2 separate regions of the Homo sapiens genome follow, and region 1 is linked to region 2. The links are contacts of gene promoters, found by promoter capture Hi-C in human tissues and cell types (Jung and others, 2019). All regions are on one chromosome and are shown on one strand. Each heading gives the region's core, a stretch centred on a gene start or on the middle of the fragment in contact. The rest is flanking DNA. Distances are from core to core; before and after follow the strand shown. Region 1 overlaps WDR62 (WD repeat domain 62). Region 2 holds the start of ZNF566 (zinc finger protein 566).

What was found. The method cuts DNA at HindIII sites, captures the fragments that hold promoters and counts their contacts. A contact is called where the count stands out against the background at its distance.
Region 1: a contact is called between a fragment that was not itself captured here and the fragment with the promoter of ZNF566 in region 2, in 1 of the 25 tissues and cell types used here (small bowel).

The regions. Positions count from the first base shown.
Region 1 is chr19:36,102,995-36,108,337 of GRCh38, forward strand. WDR62 (WD repeat domain 62) reads left to right here. Exons shown (of 32, transcript NM_001083961.2): 28 at 1-80; 29 at 162-213; 30 at 349-987; 31 at 1,524-1,681; 32 at 1,774-2,114. The coding sequence ends at 2,034. Among named protein-coding and RNA genes, the nearest start is that of OVOL3, 5.5 kb to the right of the region's middle. The HindIII fragment of the contact is 5,077 bases long and covers 1-3,789 here.
Region 2 is chr19:36,486,213-36,490,971 of GRCh38, forward strand. ZNF566 (zinc finger protein 566) reads right to left here and starts at 3,349. Exons shown (of 5, transcript NM_001145344.1): 1 at 3,274-3,349. It overlaps ZNF566-AS1 (ZNF566 antisense RNA 1), which reads left to right and starts at 3,415. Exons shown (of 1, transcript NR_036504.1): 1 at 3,415-4,759. RefSeq lists enhancers at 2,445-3,332, 2,639-2,718, 3,279-3,838, 3,333-4,218. The HindIII fragment of the contact is 11,175 bases long and covers 1-4,759 here.

The DNA of each region.
Region 1 (5,343 bases), core at 1-2,500, 390 kb before region 2:
CTCCAGAGGTCAAGCTCATGGACCGAGGCGGAAGCCAGCCCAGAGCAGGTACTGGCTACGCCTCCCCAGACAGGACCCACGTGAGTATTGGGCCCACCTCCGTCAGGGCACGGGGCTGGGAACCCTGAGGCCTTGTCCTCACCTCAGAGCTGTGCCTGCAGGTCCTCGCTGCAGGGAAGGCTGAAGAGACCCTGGAGGCCTGGCGCCCACCACGTGAGTGCCCCAGTCCCAGACGGACAGTCCTGGGTTTCTCGGCGAGTGGCCGGATGTCCAGCCTAGCTGTGGGGCGTGGGGGCCCTAGCCATCAGTTCTGTGTGGTGGAGTCAGTGCCATCTGCTTCCGTTACAGCTCCCTGCCTTACGAGCCTGGCGTCCTGTGTCCCTGCTTCCTCCGTGCTGCCCACAGACAGGAATCTCCCAACGCCCACATCTGCACCCACCCCAGGCCTGGCTCAGGGTGTCCATGCCCCCTCCACCTGTTCCTACATGGAGGCCACTGCCAGCTCCCGTGCCAGGATATCACGCAGCATCTCCCTCGGTGACAGTGAGGGCCCTATCGTGGCCACACTGGCCCAGCCCCTCCGTAGGCCATCGTCCGTTGGGGAGCTGGCCTCCTTGGGCCAGGAGCTTCAGGCCATCACCACCGCGACAACACCCAGTTTGGACAGTGAGGGCCAAGAGCCTGCCCTGCGTTCCTGGGGCAACCACGAGGCCCGGGCCAACCTGAGACTGACCCTGTCAAGTGCCTGTGATGGGCTCCTGCAGCCCCCCGTGGATACCCAGCCTGGCGTCACCGTCCCTGCAGTGAGCTTCCCAGCCCCTAGCCCTGTGGAAGAGAGCGCCCTGAGGCTCCACGGCTCTGCCTTTCGCCCAAGTCTCCCAGCTCCTGAGTCCCCTGGCCTTCCTGCCCACCCCAGTAACCCCCAGCTTCCAGAGGCCCGGCCTGGCATCCCTGGCGGCACTGCCTCCCTCCTGGAGCCCACCTCCGGTGAGTACAGCCCTGGAGCAAGGACTGTCCCCTAAGCTCATCCTGTGTGCTAGTTGGCTCAGCTCCAAAGATGGATACTTGACCTGGCCACAGGGACTGTGCCATTCATTCATTCGTGCATTAACTTAAATATTTAATGAGCATTACATGTTGGGCTTTGTGCTAAACCCTGGGACATGGGACATGGTGGTAAACAACACAGAGAACTGACAGCTTCAATGGGGACAATGCCCAGACTAAACCTTTAAGGAACCCGTCATATGTATCACGAAGTGACACATGCTTAGGAGGGACAGAGGAGGGCGAGGGAGTGCAGGGTGGGGACAGGGGTTGGGATTACAAACCAGAAGATAAGAAGAGGCTTCAGGGAGGAGGCTGCATTGGAGCAGAGACCTGTAGGAGTGAAGGGGAGGGAGCCTTGGGGACCCAGAGAAGTGTTCCAGACAGAAGTACAGCATGGAGTCCACCCAGTCGCTCTGGCCGCTCACACCAATGGAATGCAGCTCATCTTGCTCATTCCCTTCTCTCTACCCCAGGTGCACTTGGTCTGTTACAGGGCAGCCCTGCCCGCTGGAGTGAGCCCTGGGTGCCGGTTGAAGCCCTGCCCCCATCTCCCCTTGAGCTGAGCAGGGTGGGGAACATCTTGCACAGGCTGCAGACCACCTTCCAAGAAGCCCTCGACCTTTACCGTGTGGTGAGCTAAGCCCCAGAGTTGGGAAAGGGTTGAGGGGTCTCTTGAGACCGCCCGGCCTTGGTGGCCCCTGACAAGGCTGGCATCCCTTGCAGTTGGTCTCCAGTGGCCAGGTGGACACCGGGCAGCAGCAGGCACGGACTGAGCTGGTCTCCACCTTCCTGTGGATCCACAGCCAGCTGGAGGCTGAATGCCTGGTGGGGACTAGTGTGGCCCCAGCCCAGGCTCTGCCCAGCCCAGGACCCCCGTCCCCACCGACGCTGTACCCCCTGGCCAGCCCAGACCTGCAGGCCCTGCTGGAACACTACTCGGAGCTGCTGGTGCAGGCCGTGCGGAGGAAGGCACGGGGGCACTGAGGGCGCAGCCCCTCCACCGCAGCCCTGCTGCTTCTGAGGACTTAGGTATTTTAAGCGAATAAACTGACAGCTTTGAGGAATGGTTCCTGGTGTCTGTTTGGGCCTATCCACAAAGCCCTCTTCAAGTGGAAGTGGGGAGGGAGGGTAGAAGGTGATGCCCAGAGGACTCGTGTCTGTCAGTGGAGAGCATGGGACCAGCGCTCCCAAGAAGTTCAGGAACTGCAGCCATGACCTCAGGGCCAGTCCTCCCACACTGCCCACAGAGCTGCCACAGACCAGTGTGAGGTGCTTACCCAGTGGGGCCCATTTGTGCCCCAGGGAGGAGCCAGACCCTCTTACCTGCCCCCTGCCAGTGCCTGAGAACTCACTGGGGCTGCTGTGATCACCATGTGCCTACCTTGCCCAGCAGTCCACGCTTTGCCATATCATGGCTCAGGGCCTCTGGGCCAAGGCCACACTAGATCCCACAAAGTCCACGGTGGTGGTGTCCCCATCTGCAACAGGGGAAACTGAGGACCCATGAACAGGCTTGCCCAAGCTGGGTATGGTGGCCTGCACCTATAATCCCGGCTACTCAGGAGGCTGAGGTGGGAGGATCGCTTGAGGCCAGGAGTTTGAGACCAGCCTGGGCAACTTGGTGAAACCCCATCTCTTTATTTCATGTATTTATTTATTTATTTTTGTTTTTGAGATGGAATCTTGCTGTGTCATCCAGGCTAGAGTGCAGTGGTGCGATCTTGGCTCACTGCAACCTCCGCCTCCCGGGTTCAAGCGATTCTCCTGCCTCAGCCTCCCGAGTAGCTGGGATTACAGGCACCCACCACCATACTCAGCTGATTTTTGTATTTTTAGTAGAGACGGGGTTTTGCCATGTTGGCCAGGCTGGTCTCAAACTCCTGACCTTGGGAGATCCGCCCACCTCGGCCTCCCAAAGTGCTGGGATTACAGGCATGAGCCACCGCACCTGGCCAAAACCCCGTCTCTTTAAATAAAACAAAATAAAACAAGAAACCCAGGCAGGCTTGCCCACTGTATGATCCTGGCAGCAGGCCCAGGCCACGAGCAGCTGGGACCAATAACTGCTTCCCCTTCAGAAGTTCTACATTCCACGAGCTCCCAGCACTGCTACCAGCTCCCCCAGACAGCAGGCATCTGGCCACATGGGGTGTCTGCTAAAAAAGCCACTCTTGGCTGGGGTGTGGTGGTGCACACCTGTAGTCCCAGCTACTCAGGAGGTTGAGGCAGGAGAATCGCTCAAACCCAGGAGGCAGAGGTTTCAGTGAGCTGAGATCACACCATCATTGTACTTCAGCCTGGGTGACACAGCAAGTCTCAAAAAAAAAAAAAAAAAAAATCCTGCCAGTTCCCACCCAGGTGCCGGGCACTGTAGCAGAAGGAACATCAGGCAACGCACCTGCCCTCATGGCCACTCACCTTCTATACAGTCAAACAGATGCAGGAATTAGAGCTCTGTATAATTCTAGATAGGTTGGGGAGATCCATTGCTGGTGAAGGGTCAGGGAAGGCCTTTCGAGGTGACATTTGGGCTGAAGCTTGATAGAGGACATCTCAGGAACACATCCAGGCCGACAGCACAGCCAGTGCACAGGCCTGGGGCAGCCACACGTGATCTGTGTGGAAGCAAGAGGAGCGAAGCCCGGACGGCTGGAATGGAGTGAGCAAGGGGAGGGCAGGAGCTGAGGTGCAAGGAGGAGCAGGGCCTTGTTGCTTCATAACATTTAAGTCCAAGGAATATCCAGAACAGTTTTTTGTTTTTGGGTTTGTTTCTAAATCTCTGCTCTTAATGTTTGGGGGATATCCAGTGTTGCTTATTTCTCACGACTCTGCCTCAGGGAGTCCAGGTGGTCCAGAACTTGAACCACCTGCCTAGGCCTAGGCCCATCTGCCTAGTTCGGCCACCATTGCCCAAAACCTTGCCCAACATCCCTGGGCAAAGCTTGGTGTTCAGCCCCCCAGGCCTCGGACACCCAGGAGACCACCTTGGGCCTCTGTCATGCATGGAATTACCCTTCCTTCCAACCTGTATCATAGTAAAGTCTTCTGCTCCAAGGAGTAAACACCTGGCTTTCAGGGCCCAAGATGGAGGGACGTTGGTTACCCTTGATGTCATCATGCACCTGGCCTCTTCCTCTCCTGCTCTGTTATCCTCTGTGAGCAAGCTTCAGTCTCCAGCTTATGGCCTCATGGTTGCAACACGGCTGCTGTGGCACCCAGCAGCACACCCTCAGGTGGTGTCTCCATTTTGCAATTGTTGGCTTTCCTGCAGCCCTGACTGAAGTGCCTGGCATAAGCCTGGAAGCGCAGGAGCTAGAAGCTGCCCCGATAGTACTGCTATGGGGAGGCTGAGGTTAGATGTGGAGTGCAGGGGGCTCACAGAGGGTGACAGCAGGAGAGGAAGAGGCCAGGTGCACAATGACATGAGGGTCAGAGGCCCAAGTTATTGGTCCCAGCTGCTGGGTGGCCTGGTCCAACCAGGAGCAAAGGCACAGAGCAGGGCACCCTCTAGGGCAGCAGAAAAGATGCAGATCTCTCCCAGGGGTCTCCCTGGGAGACTCATCTGGGGTCAGATGAGTCCCAGGCAACAGGAATGGAGATTGCTTTGATGTGCTTGGACCATCTCTCCTGTCCTGGGCATGTTGCAGCTCAAACAAAGAGGTTCTCTCAATAAGAAAGGCAAGTGGGCTGGTAATCAGAGAGGATCCAGCATGTCTGCCACTTCCCTCTTCCAAATGCCAGGCTCTGTCCTGGAAGGACCATACTTTCTCCATACTTCTTAACCAGGATAAACCACCTGGTTAAGAAGCCACTGCTGGTGGTGCAGCATGTGTGCATGTGGTTTGTGAGCTGACAGGGTCCCAGCAGAAAGATGACAGCATGCTTAGATGGGATATTCCAAAGAGTTTAACCAAGGGATCATTTGCAAAGGAGCAGCAGGGACTGGGAAACCACCGAGGCTGGTGCAGAACCCCAGGACTGGCACCCTGGGAGCTGTTACCACCCCCAGGCCACAAGGCACAAAGAGAAGGAACAAGAACCCAAAAGAGCAAATCCCAGGGAGAGGGTAGTGCTGAGGGAGCTGCAGCCCTGACTCCCACACAGGACGGAGTGAGAATCAACACCCTGACCTTACTCCCCTCCTGCAGGGCACCCCATTGTCCAAATCCTACTGGAAGCCAGAGTGCATAGAAGCCCAGGTGACCCCGCCTCCAGTCAACCTCCTAGGCCATGGAGCAGGGCAGAACAGGACTGAGAGGGTTCCTGGGGAACTGGGTCCCTGGAAGGAAAACA
Region 2 (4,759 bases), core at 2,099-4,598:
CCTTGGATTGGATCCTGAAACAGTAAGAAAATTTAGCAAAATTTGAAAAAGGGCTCTAACTTAATTAAAAGTCTTCTATCAGCATAAATTTCCTGGTTTTCATCATTGCACTGTGGGCACCTGCAGAGTATCTGCAAATTCCTTATACTATGTTCACAACATGAAAATAAAATTTTAGGCCAGGCATAGTGGCTCACACCTGTAATCCCAGCACTTTGGGAGGACAAGGCAGTTGGATCACCTGAGATCAGGAGTTTGAGACCAGCCTGACCAATATTGTGAAACCCTGTGTCTACTAAAAATACAAAATTAGCTGGCCGTGGTGGCGCAAGCCTGTAATCCTGGCTACATGGGAGGCTGAGGCAGGAGGATTGCTTGAACCTGGGAGGTGGAGGTTGCAGTGAGCTGAGATCATGCCATTGCACTCCAGCCTGGGCAGCAAGAGCGAAACTCTGTCTCAAAAAAAAAAAAAAAAAATGAAAGAAAGAAAGAAAAGAACATTTTTAAAAAATTTACGAAGGGGAAAATGGACACAAAAAAGAAGATATACAAATGGCCAGTAAACATACAAAAAGGTGCTGAACATCATTTCACATCAAGGAAATACAAATTAAAACTATGATGAGGCTGGGTGCAGTGGCTCACACTTATAATCCCAGGATTTTGGGAGGCTGAGGCGGGCGGGAGTTTCACATGGTGAAACTCTGTCTCCACTAAAAATACAAAAATTAGCTGGGTGTGGTGGCACGCACCTGTAATCCCAGCTACTCGGGAGGCTGAGGCAGGAGAATGGCGTGAACCCGGGAGGCGGAGCTTGCAGTGAGCCGAGATTGCGCCACTGCACTCCCGCCTGGGCCACAGAGCGAGACTCCGTCTCAAAAAAAAAAAAAAAAACAAACCAAAACAAGACAAAACAAACCAAAACAAAAACCTATGATGAAACTGCACCACACAACCAATAAAATAGTTAAAAGACTAACCATACCAAATTACGGAGAGGATATGAAGCAACTGGAACTCTCATACATTGCTGGATGGAGTGTAAACTGGAACAACCACATGAGAGCTTCGTAGTATCTATTAAACATTAGCCTACCCTATGATCTAGCAATGCCACTCCTAAGTATTAACCCGGGAGAAAAGCCTTCATGTGTTCACCAAAAACACAGCAGAGTGTTCACAGCTGCAGCATCATTTGTAACAGCCCCAAATTGGAAGCTACCCAAATATCCATCAACAATGTAATCGACTAATATACTACAATATATCCCCAGTATAGTGAGAGCTAAGTACAATTACACTGAACAACATGAATGAATTTCACAAACATAATATATAACAAAAGAAGCCTGGCATAAAACAGTACATGCTGCATAATTGCATATATACATGAAGTTCAAGAATGTGTAAGACAGCCAGATGCACTGGCTCATGCCTGTAATCCCAGCACTTTGGGAGGCCAAGGTGGGCGGATCACCTGAGGTCAGGACTAGCTTTGCCAACATGGGGAAACCCTGTCTCTACTAAAAATACAAAAATTAGCCGGGTGTGATGGGTGCCTGTAATCCCAGCTACTCAGGAGGCTGAGGCAGGAGAATCGTTTGAACCCAGGAGGCGGAGGTTGCAGTGAGCCAAGATTGCATCACTGCACTCCAGCCTGGGTGACAAGAGCAAGACTCTGTCTCAAAAAAAAAAAAAAAAAAAAAAAAAAGAATGGGTAAAACTAGTTAATGATAGAATTCTGAATAGATTGTGTGGGGGAGAAATTACTGAGAAGTGGTATGAGGGAAGCATCTCAGGTCCTGGCAAAGTTCTTTGTATAGATCTAAGAGTGTTACACAGCTGTACACTTAAGATTTGCACACTTTATATAGGCTCTATGTATCTATTGACAGCCTCCTGCTCTGTTGCCCAGGCTGAAGGGCAGTGGTATGATCATGGCTTCCTGCAGCTGCAAAGCACTGGGCTCAAGCGATCCTCTCATCTCAACCTCCTGAGTAGCTAGGACTTATAGGTGCCAGCCACCATGCCCGGCTAATTTTTTATGTATGTATGTATTTATGGTAGAGTTAGGGTCTCACTATGTTGCCCAGGCTGGTCTCCAGCTCCTGGCCTCAAGTGATCCTCTCACCTTGGCCTGGCAAAGTGCTGGGATTACACGCATGAGCCTCCACACTTGGCCTACAAAAATTTTTTTAACTCTTGGAACTATGCTTTGGTAGGGATATGGAGCAATAAGATATTTCAAACATTGCTGTTCAAGTACAAATTTGTGCAGCCACTCGGGTATATATTTTGACACTGTTTAGTAAAGTGGAAGATATATGAACCGGCAATTCTGCTGGTAAATAAACTCAAGCATGTGTACCCCATGTGAAAGAATGTGGCTGTGTTGTTTATAAAATGAAAAGCTATAAATAACTAATAGGGCATCATTACTAGAAAGGATGAATAATTGTGGTATACTTCAGAAGGGAGAATATAGCAAAGAAATTGAATTAACCGCGATTTTATCTAATAGGGATGATTCACAGAATTGTAAAAATAAACCAAAGACAGTATGACAACATTCATATAAAGTTTTAAAACGGGGAAAAACTGGAGTATAATGCCTAGAGAAGTATACGTAAGTGATAAAACCTCACACTGTGTGACTTACCCTGCCACACAAACCTGATCACACTCCCACCATGGGGACATTCAGCTACAGACAATCCACGCCCAAAGCAACAGGGTCGCACACGCAGGGCCTCTATCGGTCACATAAGCACAAGTGCACGCTTACCGAGGAGGCAGTCACAGTCACAACCACATTGTCACAGTCGGCGCACACCTGTACCGGGTCACAGTCACGATCACACATTAACCACAGCCACACACACAGATAGAAACATGCAGTTACTCGCAGGTATCCCCACCTGAACTCTGCCGCACACAGTCACACAGCATATAGTCGCACACCACTACGGGGACAAACGCAGTAACACTCAACCAGGCACAAGCTCCCCACAGCCGCACACACAATGCCGCACGTGGTCCTGCTCCCTCTCACACACACACCAGCAGCCACAGTCTCCGAGGCCGTGCTGCACACGGTGTGAGCGTTGGAAACACACTCATCACAAGGGCAGCCTGTCACAATCGCGCGATCATTCACCACACACCTCCACACAGACGCAAGCGCACGCTTTCAATCTCACCTCCACCGCCGCACAAAGCCGAGGCTTGGCCCCCGGCCCCGCCCTCTCCCGGGTTTCTCACCTCAGGCCTTACCAGCTTTCGAAGCAGCAGAACCCTCCCCGGCACTGGGGTAGTTGCTGGTAAAGCCCTGAGGGTCCCGCCAGCGCGTGAGTTGGAAGCTGAATTACCGCGAGAAGTACAGTCTTGCCGAGGAGACCTCTGGGAAGCGTAGTCAGAGACGTATCAAGGCCGGACAAGATGGTTCCCGATCGTCAGAATTCCTGTCCGCGCCTTGCGTCAGCCCCGCCGAAAGGATCGCCCCCCCTAGTCAAACCGCTCGCGCCCCAGAGGCCTCATGGAGTCCCGCCTCAGGCTCGGGCCTTGGCCCCCAAAGAAAGCCACTCCGACGTGTTTGAGATGGGCTTAGTTCCCGGACCCGTCCTACTGCCCCCAGGCGCTGGACAGCCTCAGAAAGAGGACAAGTCTGCATGGAAAGATAATCGCACAACTGAGCCTTCTGGGAGATGTAGTTCGGAGCTGGGAAGGCGGTTGGACCCTCCGAAAGTCATCTTAATTGCTCTCACAGATAAGCCGGTGCTGGGCTGCCGGCCTGAGTACTGTGCGCCCAGAGTGCGCAGGCGCAAACATCCTGGGTTGCTGTTTTGGCCTCTTTGTTCGGGCGTGAATTTTGTTTATTGCTCCTTAGTGCAGAGGGGTTATGGGACCAGAGGTTGTGAGACTCAGAAGTGGTTGGGGACGCAGAAGGGGTGTAGACCAGGAACCTGCGACCTGATGGGGGGAGGTCGAAGGGAAAGGAATCGCCAAACGTGGGACAGGTTTGGAGAGGCAGAAAGAGAGGAGTCTGAAATTGCAAAGGGCAGGTGTTATTCTGACTTCTGTGTGCTTTGTGATAAATGAGTGGGGCAGGAAGTAAGAGGAGTTTCACTTTCTCCTTCTGCAATTATTTGTGTACTTGGACTAAGTGTATCTCATGGCCAGTATTTGACTGCTTTTGACCTATAAAGGTATTGTATACACAGTCATGCATAGTTTAATAATAAGGATATATGCTCTCCCCACGGTCTCCCTCTCCCTCTCTTTCCACGGTCTCCCTCTGATGCCGAGCCAAAGCTGGACTGTACTGCTGCCCTCTCGGCTCACTGCAACCTCCCTGCCTGATTCTCCTGCCTCAGCCTGCCGAGTGCCTGCGATTGCAGGCGCGCGCCGCCACGCCTGACTGGTTTTCGTATTTTTTTGGTCTCCACCAAACACAGGGTTTCGCTGTGTTGGCCGGGCTGGTCTCCAGCTCCTAACCGCGAGTGGTCCGCCAGCCTCGGCCTCCCGAGGTGCCGGGATTGCAGACGGAGTCTTGTTCACTCAGTGCTCAATGGTGCCCAGGCTGGAGTGCAGTGGCGTGATCTCGGCTCGCTACAACCTCCTCCCAGCCGCCTGCTTTGGCCCCCCAAAGAGCCGAGATTGCAGCCTCTGCCCCGCCGCCACCCCATCTGGGAAGTGAGGAGCTTCTCTGCCTGGCCGCCCATCGTCTGGGATGTGAGGAGCCCCTCTGCCTGGCTGCCCA